Regions from separate parts of the Homo sapiens genome. Here regions 1 and 3 are each linked to region 2. Evidence: promoter capture Hi-C in human tissues and cell types (Jung and others, 2019). All regions are on one chromosome and are shown on one strand. Each heading gives the region's core, a stretch centred on a gene start or on the middle of the fragment in contact. The rest is flanking DNA. Distances are from core to core; before and after follow the strand shown.

Region 1 (3,633 bases), core at 1,100-3,599, 320 kb before region 2:
TCTGCTGGACACCCTCACAGGCATCCAGGGGGTCCCTGATTCCTGTCCCACCTGGATGGAGGTGGGGGAGGGCTAGGATGGGAGGAAGAAAGTCGGCTTGTATTCATCTGTAGGGAGGAGGTAGGAGGCCCCCACCCCACCCACTGCCAGGCCTGGCGGAGAGGAAAGGGTGCACTCTGCCTGAAGCCATCCCTCTCCCATCCGGAGGAAAAGGCCAGAGGAAGTGGAGATTTTGGCAAGGTGACCGCGGGGAGGGGCTTGTCCGCTGCGGGGTCTCCCTCCTACCAGGGAGCTAGAGGACAGGGCTCTGAGGACCCCAAAAAACCCCACCTCTTCCCTGAGCCCCCCACGGCAGGGCATGCACCTAGAGTTCCCAGCTCGGCTTTTCTTCTCTGGTACACACACCTCCTTGGGTCACACACCCAGGGAGAGCCCCTCTCTTCCCTCACACTGCCTTCCGTGGTGTCAAACATTCGGCAATCTCCAATACACACGGACACACACACAGCCTCCCTTGTCAAACACATGCAGAATCATCCCCATATCTCTGGTGTCACACACTCAGCCATTTCACACACACACCTCTCCTTGTTACACCCATACACACAGCTGGGTGTCATATGCACACGTGCCCTGTCACATGGGGACCCATCCTTCCTTCTCCTTTTTACACACCCTCGTGCGTTTCACCCACAAGCCCCAGCCTCTCCCTCGTCATACACCCACCTTCCCTGTTGCACACACCCCCTCTGATGTCACTGTTGCACACCTCCATGTGTCACACCCAGCCACAGCCTCTCTGGAGTCACACCCACACCCTTTTCTTGTCACATCCCCTCACCAGCCACGCCTGTGTCACACACACTGGACCCCTTTCCTCTGATCTACACGGCCTCTTCTGGCTGACACCCAGAGCCAGCCCATTCGGTGTCCCCCACACACCTCCTTGCATGTCACACACACCCTCTCATGTGTCACACTCTGCCACAGCCCCCTTGGGGGTGACAAGCACACACCTTTCCTTGTCACACGTACCCGCTGGAGGGTCTCAAACATGGAGCCCAGCCCCTGTCCCCTGTCTTTCTCATACACCCCCCTATGCTGTCATATTCCTGATCCCTAATGTCACACATCCAGGCTGTAGAGGGCACACATACACACACACGCACACACATACACACCTGTCCTAGCCTCACATTCTCCCACCTAGCTTTACACACCCACCATTTCCTCCATTTCACCCCACACACCTACCCAGCCTGTCCCCACGCACGATCCGGCCAGGGCCACACAAGCCTCCATCTGGGACAACCCTTGTTCAGGACATCCCCAGGGAGGGAGGCTGGGAAGCTCCCGGTCCACAGGCCTCTACTCCTTCCCCTCCCCCAGCCAGGACACGCGAGCTCGGGGAACACCCCTGCTCCGAAAGGGTCACATCACACACCCCTCAAGGACACACAGACACCTGCCCTGAGGCTCCCACGCCCCCCATCTTCTGCGCCCCCCAAGGACACTTATCACCCCCTCCCCCCCACCCCTCTCCTCGCAGACAAAGCTCCCAGCCCCGGGCCTCAGCGAGAGGAGGAGGGGGTCCAGCCCCCTCCTCAACTCCCCGCTCTGTCCCCCGCCTCGGGGAGGGGTGTCTCTCCCCTCCCCAGAGCCCTTGCACCTGCCACGGGAGGGGGGGAAAGGATGGAGAAAGGCGAGGCCCCCTGCCCGCTCCCCCGCCCCGAGCCGCAGCCCTTTCTCACCTCCCGTGTTGCTGCGCTTGGTGCAGACCACCTCGGGGGGCGTTTCGAGGGGCCTCTTGCGGGAATCCGGGGCCTCGGGCTCCATGGGGGGGGCCTGGGGCGGCGGCTGCTGCTGCTGCGGCGGCTGCGGCGGCGGCGGCGGCGGCTGCTGTGGCGGCGGCGACGGCTGCTGGGGAGGCTGGGGTTGCGGCGGCGGCGGCGGCGGGGGCGGCGGCGGCTGCGGGGCCGCGGAGGCCGTGAAGAGGCCGTGCACCGCGCCGGCGGCCATCATCCTCATGGTGGGGGGGGGCGGGGGGCGGGGGGCGGGGGAGGGGGAGGGGAGGGGAGGTGGGAGGGGGAGGGGGCGGTGGAGGGATGGGGGAGGGGGAGCCCCGGAGAGGGAAGGCGGGGGTAGGGGGGAGCCGGTTCTCGGGGGGCTGACAGAGCCTGGAGAGCGGCCGTGAGCAGGATGGCAGGGCCGAGGGGGGTCTCCGATAGGGCCGGGAAAGAACTGAGAGGTGGGGTCTCTCCTGGGACCACAGAGGCTGGGGACTGGACGCGCCACTGGGGGGACGGGACTCCCCGCTTCTTCTTGGCTCCCTGGGGCAAGAGGGCCGAGCCCCCCAGACCCTGCTCGGGGTGGGGGGCCGGAGGAGCGTGGCCGGAGTGGGAGGCGGAGGCGGCCGCTAGTGGGGGCCCGGGGGGCGGCGGGCGCGGGCGGCGGCGGCGACGGGGCTGGCGGTGGCTGCTGGCCCGAGCATCTTCTTCCCGGAGGCTCCCACAGCGCCTGGCCCCTCCCACCCAACGAGGTCACGCCCATGCCGGGTAGGGCCACGCCCTTCGGCGCCCCCATTGGTCCAGCCTTGAAGCCTGGACCACGTCCCTCTGGGTTGGCCACGCCCCTCCCGGCGGCAGAGAGCTGGACCCGACTCCCCCAGGCTGCTGGGAGGACCCCGGGCTCCTCCAAGCCGTCCCCACTCCTCACCTTGAATGAACGTTTATTGAGCACTTACTGTGTGCCAGGTCCGGTTCCAAGCAAGCACGTCACAGACGTTATCGCATTTACTCCCCAGAGCGACCAGCTCTGTGAGTTACGCTTATTATCCCTATTTTACAGATGAGGAAACAGCCTTAGGAGCTTACTTTGACTTCACTTGGTCAAGACAAGAAATTTCGACTAGGCGCGGTGGTTCATGCCTGTCATCCCAGCACTTTGGGAGGCCGAGGCGGAAGAATCACTTGAGCCCAGGAGTTTGAGACGAGCTGGGCAACAATATTGTGAGACCCCATCTCTACAAAAAAAAAATTTTTTTTTTAATTAGCCAGGCGTGGTAGCACATGCTTGTAGCCCCAGGTACTCTGGAGTCTGAGGTGGGAGGATCTCTTGAGCACAGGAGTTTGAGGCTGCAGTCAGCCATGATCAAGCAACTAGATTCGAGCCTGGGAGACAGAGCAAAACCTTGTCTCAAAAAAAAAAAAAAAAAAGAAAGAAAGAAAGAGAAAGAAATTTCACTTCACTCTTTTTCAATCCTTTCAGCTGGGAAATTCCCCTTCAAATCTTTCATCCATCCTTTGAAGAATCAACACCGTGATGCTGAAAGGGCTCAGAGGATTGAATTCACTGAGCTGGAGTTGCAGCCTGCAGCACCTGCCCTGGGGCACAACTGGCTCTCCATTCAAACAACAGCACTCAGGGCCTACCTACTAAGTGCCAGGCACTGTCCCTGATGCTGCGATACAATAGAGAACAAAACAGCCTTGGCCCTTGTACAGTATTACTACTCATGTCATTAAGAAAAATTTGTTTTCAGATGACAAAGTGGAGGCCTGGGAACATTGAGGGTGGCTTCTTCAAGGGCACACAGCTTGAGAGAGAGAAACTGGGATGAGAACGCAGGACAAG
Region 2 (4,067 bases), core at 724-3,223:
TGGCTCACTGCAACCTCTGCCTCCTGGGTTCAAGCGATTCTCCTGCCTCAGCCTCCCGAGTAGCTGGGATTACAAGGGTGTGCCACCACACCCGGCTAATTTTTGTATTTTTAGTAGAGATGGGGTTTCACCATGTTGGCCAGGCTGGTCTTGAACTCCTGACCTCAGGTGATCTGCCCGCCTCAGCCTCCCAAAGTGCTGGGATTACAGTCGTGAGCCACCATGGCCGGCCCCCCTTTATAATTCAGACTGCTCCTTTTCTAACATCCCACCTGCCTCTACACTGAGGGTTGAAAGCTGATTTCTCTATCAAGATTCTTTTGGGTGCAAGTATCTAAAATCCATTCAAACGAATCTAAGCACAAAGCAAATAAGGCAATAGTGAATGAAGCAATATTTGACAAAAGCAACAGCAAAAAAAAAAAAAAAAAAAAAAAAAAGCCCATTGTGGGTTTCATTTGAAAAATCCAAGAATTAAACTGGAGTTCAGGTATGGCTGGATCCAGGCACTCAAGTGCTGGTGTCAAAACTGCCTTTCACAATCGTTCATTTCTGCACAATCTCTTTTGCACTGAACCTCATCTCATAAAGCCTCTCCTCTCTTTGTGGCAGTGTGAGCCCCATCTGCTCCATCTGCCCAGCAATTCCAGCAGACATAGAAAATCCTCTTTCCTAATGGTTTCAGCAAATGTCTCAGGGTTGATTCTCATTGGGCTAAATTAGGTAACATGCCTTCCCTGAACCAATCACTGTGGCCAGGGAAGCAGACTCAACTGATTAGCCAGGTTTGGATCCTATGTCCATCCCTGGAGCTGGTGAAGGCAGAGCAGTGGCCAAGCCCTATTCAAATTAAATAGATGAAGAGGACAGAGAAGTGGTTTCCCAAAAGAAAACAGAGTGGGGAACTGGCGTGAGCCGGGGAGCCGTGTGGATTCCTGGAGGAAGAGTGTGCTAAGCTGTGGGAACAGCAAGTGCAAAGGCCCTAAGGTGAGCAACTTGCCTGGCAAGTTCAAGGTTCAACAAGGCCACTTCTGCTGTAGTATCCTCTTCCCTGCCAACCAAATCCAGAATAGTGGTCCAACACACACACACACACACACACACACACACACTCTGTTCCTTATCCAACTGTAATGCTTTCACCCTTGCTTGGTACCTTTGTACTTCTCCCTTCATAGTCGACTAGTTAAAAAAAAATACATTTCTCGGCTCTTTTTTGAAGTAGGTGTGATTGAGTTAAAACATATTTACTTGACATAAGCTTAATTATTCATCAATGGGAACCTGAAAAGGGAGTCAGAGAGGCCAAGAGGTTAGGGTGGAGTAGAGGGGGTAGGGAAGGTAAGCTGGGGTGCAGAGGGTGCAGACTGGAGGAATGGGGGCGAAGTGGGGTATGGGACTGGGGTGGCAGGGAGGGGCTGGGGAGAGAGAGAGAAGGGTAGGTGCCAGAGGGCCAAGGATTGTGGAACTGGGGTGGGGTTGGGAGTTGGGGGGTGGGGAGGAGATGTGGGGTACTCTGTGAATACCTTAGAAGGGATAGAGAAGGCAGGGCTAGGGGTTTGGAAGGGGTGGGATTGGAGGTCAGAGGGGCTCAACTGGGGTTAGGAAATGGAAAGGTGAGAAGAGGTGGGGGTTAGAGGCTGGGGACTGGGGTCCAGAGAGCAGAGTGAACTGAGTGGGTTCAGAAGAGTACTGGCGTTGGCACTTCAGAGGCTGGACTAGAGAAGGCGCGTTCAGCCGACGGTGCGGGATACACTGCCGAGGAAGTCCGCGGCGAGGGGCGTGGTTGGGGGGTGTGTATTACACGGTATCCCCCCCTTGCCTTTCCAAGTCTTTCCCTCTGGTTCCGCCTCCTTTTCAGGAGTGACATACCGTTGCCCAATCAGAGCCTCAGGCCTGGCGTGGCACAGCCAACCGCGCGGCGTGGGGAGGAGCTGGGGAGGGGGCTCGCAAGGCCGGGGAGGGGGCTAGGGGCCTCCGAGGGCTCCGGAGCGGCGACTGGCGAGCCATGGCGCTGGGGCTGCAGCGCGCAAGGTACTGAAGTTCGGGGGCAGGAGTTCTGGGAATTGGGGGGCTCTCCTCCTGGAGACCCCTGAGCTGGATTGTTGGGGGGGGTGGGGTTCGCGGGTGCGAGCCAAGAACGCCCCGGGGCGCGCAGTTGGAGGCACATCCCCACCGCACTCTCCACCCTTAGGGACTGCAGGGGTGGGGGATTCCCTACGTCTCTGGCTGCCCCGCCCCTCTGGCCAAGAGCGGCTTCGGGGTTCCCGATTTCTCGCTACCCAAGGCTCATTTACCCTCCTGGTTGGGGGTGGAACTTGGGATTCCTGATAAATTAGGGGTGATTGCATTTGAGCAGTCCCCAGGCTTCTGCGGGAGATATTCGCCCTCCACATATTGATCCCTCTGGCCTCTGAACCCCCCAAAATTGAGGGTATTCTTTGCCACCAGGTGCCTGGGATCCTAGGTGATATGGGATACCCCTAAATGGAGCCTTCCCACATATAGGGAGTCCCTTGGAATGGCATTCAGCTCCTGAGTTCAAGAGAGGAGAGATCTCCTCTAATAGTATGCTTCCTGACACAGTCTCCTAAACATTGGGTTTCCCTAGAAATGGGCAGAGGGGAGCCCCTTTCAGAAGCCGTCTGGGACCCTTCCCAAGAGACTTTTTGTATCCTTTCAAAAGCCAGAGTCACCCCCTTAAATAACAGGGAAACAAGCTGGACCCACTTCCCAAAGTCCAGCCCCTCATCTCACCCCTGCACCCCCATCCTGAGAGACAGGGGAGCCTCATCCAAGCTTTATTTTGGGGAGACTCCATGGCAGGGTGCTGTGAGCCTGCAGGCTGTGATGGGAACGCCCCCTGCCGCAGTACTCAGATGGGGTCATCCCGGGCAGAGGGTGGGTTTCTGGGTTCACTTGCCCAGCAGGTGCAGCTCTGCTGGAACACAGGGGAACCTGTGCCCTGGGGCCGCTGCCGGGGGGTTTTATCTGGCCATGTTCCCATGGGACCCTGGAAAATGTTCTAGGTCCTCAGCTTTCCCTGTCCAATGTGAGGCACCCAGTAAGCCTCACCCCCTTCCCTCCTCCCTGGCTTCTCAGGCCTGATTGGATCCATGCACACCCCATGTTTCTAACCGCCCCCATCCTCTCCCCTGTCCCCTACTCTATTCCAGGCCCTGGCTCTGGGCCTAACAAGGAACTCTATCCCACCCCTTTTGGGCCAGCTGTCGTTCCGCCCCTCTCAGCGCCCCCTCCTGGCTGGGTGGGGGCCCCTCTTGGCTGAGCTCGGGTGCCCCCCCTCCCCACCCAAGGCCGGCCCTTTCCTGTGGAGTCATCTCACCGCCGTGCGCACCCACTCGTAACTCGCACCCGGGTCCTGGCTGCACCGCATCCCCTCCTGCACCCCCTGGATGGCCCTTCAGCCAACGGGGGCCTGGGCGATGGTGAGTGGGCCCCCAACACCTCCTTTCCCCCTTCCCTTCCTCTAGCTGGGGCTGGCTGCCATCCCACTGTGGCCAAGGATGCTCTTGGGAAGTCCCTGGTGGGTACGGCTTGCAGCCCAGAGTGCCCAGTGAGGTAGTATTCCCGGAGAAGATAGGATTTTGGGGACCAGCACCCTACCAGATTACCATGTCCTTGAGAACAGGCAGAGTCGGGGGGCAGAGAGACTCCCCCAGACCCCCATGCCAAGTCCCTTTGCAAACCCAAACCCTGCCTCTGGTCTCTCAGGACACCTCTCTGCAATGCCAAAAGGCATCCTTGCCCAGCTACAACCTAAACCCCCACCCACCAAATCCTCTGTGCTTTTCGTAAGACGCCCCCCCCCAATACCCAGCTGGGTGTCAGAATAGAAAAGCCCAGAAGTAGCCCTGAATGTGGGCAGGGACTGCCTGCTTTTATTATGCCTTCCTCATGGGTGGCAAATTCTTCAGGGCAGGGAAGAGGTGAACTTCTCTCCTTCCTGGTTGGAGGGGGGCACTGGGCCCCAACCCCCATTCTCAGGCCTCACCCTGAGCCCGCCAGGCCCTGGCCCCACCCCCTGTTCTTGGCTGGAACACGGAGGA
Region 3 (3,653 bases), core at 512-3,011, 410 kb after region 2:
TGCCATCACCCCATCTGTCCCCCAGACCCTGAACACGCCTCACACCCAAAATTTTCCCACTCCAACAAGGGATACCTCAAAGGTTCCCTCCAAAGCTCCACCCCTAGTTCCAGCTTGTAGCCCCGACATCACCCCATCTGCCCCCCAGGCCCTGAACGCGCCTCACACCCCACCTTTTCCCACTGCAACAATGGATGCCTCAAAAGTCCCCGCCAAAGCTCTGACCCAGCCCCAGTCCTCTATGGTAAGCACCTCCTTCTAGTCCTCCCCAAAACTCCTGTCCATCTCCCTAGAGACACCTGTTCCCCCTTCTAACCCTGACCTTCCTTTTTCTGAGGCCCCTTTGGTTCCCCCTCTTTCCCCAACCCCAACTTTCCAAAAGAAAATGCCTCTCCTCACCCCCACCCCTAAGGTCACTATCCCTCCAGGTCTGCTCACCCCCTGTACCCCACTTTCTCTTTTCTGTAGACCTGGAATCCAGGCAATCCCTAAGTAGTGTGATTAAATCTTAGTAGTGTGGGCCACGCATGGTGGCTCACGCCTGTAATCCCAGCACTTTGGGAGGCCAAGGCCGGCGGATCACTTGAGGTCAGGAGTTTGAGACCACACTGGCCAACATGGCAAAACCCCATCTCTACTAAAAATACAAAACTTAGCCGGGTGTAGTGGCACACGCCTGTAATCCCAGCTACTCCGGAGGCTGAGGCAGGAGAATCACTTGAACCCAGGAGGCAGAGGTTGTAGTGAGCTGAGATCACGCCACTGCACTCCAGCCTGGGCAATACAGCGAGACTCAGTTTCAAAAAAAAAAAAAGAGTTCTCAGTTGTACTCAGGTCCATTGTACCATACTAGGCAGAAGTATGACTTCTTATTGTCTTATTTTATTTTGTAGAGACAGGATCTCCCTGTACCCCCGGCTGAAGCACAATGGCACAATCATAGCTCACTGCAGCCTTCAACTCCTGGGCTCAAGTAATCCTCCTGCCTCAGCCTCCTGAGTAGCCAGAACCACAGACATACACTACCATGCCCAGATAATTTTTTTATTTTTATTTTTTTGTAGAGATGGGGTCTCGCTACATTGCCCAGGCTGGTCTTGAACTCCTGGGCTCAAGTGATCCTCCCACCTCAGCCTCCCAAAGTGTTGGGATTACAGGCATGAGCCACTGTGCCCTGCCTATTTTATCTTTTAAAATCCTCATCCATGGAGAAATCAGCTCAACTCCCTGTTTCCCACTGGACGTTCTGTATGTGTGCTCTAATACATCTCCAGTGATTCCAAACGATTCCAGGATCGCTTTCTATTCTGGAGTGAAGAATGTTCCTCCAGCCTTTGGGAGCCCTTCTGGTACCCGCCTGCTCCAGGCTTTCCAGTTCCACACCTCCTCATTGTAGGCACTGTCTTGGCTGCATGCTGTAATCACGGAGGCAAGCTTGGAGAACGGTGTTGGCCCTGCAAGAAGAGCTTCAGCAGGGCAAATGGTCTTTGCACACAGGAACCATTTCCCAGTGTTGGCCTTGAATCACTCATGTGCCTTCCAGAATTTCAGAATCTTATCTATAACTCTCAGAATGAGTCTCAGGATAGAGTTAAACTCCTGTCGGAATGTAGTCATTTGGGGTTCTCTTGCCACCATAGGAACTGGGACCATCATCTGTGATGCTGCACCAGTGAAGTCTGTGCTGATAACCCATTAGGACTTGATGACACCAGGGCTGTATCATGACAAAGACTGCATATGCTGAGACCTCAAGAGTTGGATATGGTGTGTGGACGATGGCAATATTTATAAGAGCTTTTAATGCACTGAATCAGTATCTGCAGGCCTAGAGTCCTTAAATAATACAAGTATACTTTGGACTGCATGATGATCTGGAACACAGGATATTGGAGAAACTGGATTTCTTTTTTTTTTTTTTTTTTGAGACGGAGTCTCACCCTGTCACCCAGGCTGGAGTGCAATGGTATGATCTCGGCTCACTGCAACCTCCACCCCCTCAGGTTCAAATGATTCTCCTGCCTCAGCCTCCCGAGTAGCTGGGATTATAGGTACCCGCCACCACACCCAGCTAATTTTTCTAGTTTTAGTAGAGACAGGGTTTCACCATGTTGGCCAGGCTGGTCTCTAACTCCTGACCTCATGATCCGCCCGCCTTGGCCTCCCAAAGTGCTGGGATTACAGGTGTGAGCCACCGTGCCTGGCCCAGAATCAGGATTTCTGTACAAGCGTGGCACCCACGGAGCTAGAGATGCTGTCTCAGACCTAATACCCAATGGAACATCCAAGAATATGGCTCTAATTGCAGGGCACACCATACAAAAATGGAGGCGCATGGGGCCCAGCGCAGTGGCTCATGTCTGTAATCCCAGCACTTGGGGAGGCTGAGGAGGGTGGATTACTTGAAACCAGCCTGGCCAACATGGTGAAACCCCGTCTACTAAAAATACAAAAATTAGCCAGGAGTGGTGGTGCGCACCTGTAATCCCAGCTATTTGGGAGGCTGAAGCAGGAGAATTGCTTGAACCCAGGAGGTAGAGGTTGCAGTGAGCCAAGACCACGCCACTGCACTCCATCCTGGGTGACGGAGCAAGACTCTGTCTCACACACACAAAACAATGGAGCCACAGGGTCTCATCACAGAATGGATGGTCCTCACCTGTCATCTGTCCTCATAGCCAATGCAGGTACATGGCCTTCATCTGTAGGCAGAGCCCCGATTTCAACATTCTCACTCAGAAGCATGAATAACAGGGACAGAGGACCTATATAGATCTTGACACTTGGGCTGAACCTTGAGACATCTTGGCTTAAAGAACTGTATGTTTTGGACAGGCGCGGTGGCTCATGCCTGTAATCCCAGCACTGTGGGAGGGCAAGGCGGGTGGATCATTTGAGGTCAGGAGTTCAAGACCAGCCTGGCCAACGTGGTGAAACCCCGTCTCTACTAGAAATACAAAAATTAGCCGGGCAGTAATGGTGTGTGCCTGTAATCCCAGCTACTCGGTAGGCTGAGGCAGGAGAATCGCTTGAGCCTGGGAAGTGGAGGTTGTGGTGAGCTGAGATCGCGCCACTGCACTCCAGCCTGGGTGACAGACTGAGACGCTGTCTCCAAAAAAGAAAACCTGTATATTTTTAAACTATGATTTAAGGAGATATGTATGGGTGCTGTTATGGACTAAATGTCTGTGTCTCCCCCAAAATTCTTATGTTGAAACCCTAACCTCCAATGCAACTATATCTGGAGACGGTGCCTTTATGGAGGTAATTAAGGTTAATTGAGGCCGAAAGAGTGTGGCTGTAATCCAATGGGACTGGTGACCTTTTTTTTTTTTTTTTTTTTTTTTTTTCTGAGACAATCGTGTTCTGTCACCTAGGCTGGAGTGCAGTGGCATGATCACGGCTCACCGCAGCCTCAACCTCCCAGGCCCAGGTGATCCTCCCACCTCAGCCTCTTGAGTAGCTAGGACTAGAGGTATGCACCACCATGCCTGGCCAATTTGTTGTATTTTTTAGAGACGGGGTTTCACCATGTTGCCCATGCTGGTCTCGAACTCCTGGACTCAAGCGATCCACCATCCTCCCAAAGTGCTGGGATTATAGGCATGAGCCACCATGCCTGGCCTTCCTTATAAAGGGAAGAGATACCAGGG

Evidence for each region. The method cuts DNA at HindIII sites, captures the fragments that hold promoters and counts their contacts. A contact is called where the count stands out against the background at its distance.
Region 1: the fragment with the promoter of NOVA2 here is called in contact with the fragment with the promoter of HIF3A in region 2 in 1 of the 25 tissues and cell types used here (IMR-90 fibroblasts).
Region 3: a contact is called between a fragment that was not itself captured here and the fragment with the promoter of HIF3A in region 2, in 1 of the 25 tissues and cell types used here (dorsolateral prefrontal cortex).

The regions. Positions count from the first base shown.
Region 1 is chr19:45,971,516-45,975,148 of GRCh38, forward strand. NOVA2 (NOVA alternative splicing regulator 2) reads right to left here and starts at 2,350. Exons shown (of 4, transcript NM_002516.4): 1 at 1,752-2,350. The coding sequence starts at 1,836. RefSeq lists a silencer at 2,516-2,675. The HindIII fragment of the contact is 35,305 bases long and covers 1-3,633 here.
Region 2 is chr19:46,295,069-46,299,135 of GRCh38, forward strand. It overlaps HIF3A (hypoxia inducible factor 3 subunit alpha), which reads left to right and starts at 1,974. Exons shown (of 15, transcript NM_152795.4): 1 at 1,974-2,034. The coding sequence starts at 2,009. The HindIII fragment of the contact is 13,814 bases long and covers 1-4,067 here.
Region 3 is chr19:46,704,986-46,708,638 of GRCh38, forward strand. All of the region lies in intron 3 of PRKD2 (protein kinase D2), which reads right to left. Among named protein-coding and RNA genes, the nearest start is that of MIR320E, 2.5 kb to the right of the region's middle. The HindIII fragment of the contact is 4,012 bases long and covers 1-3,653 here.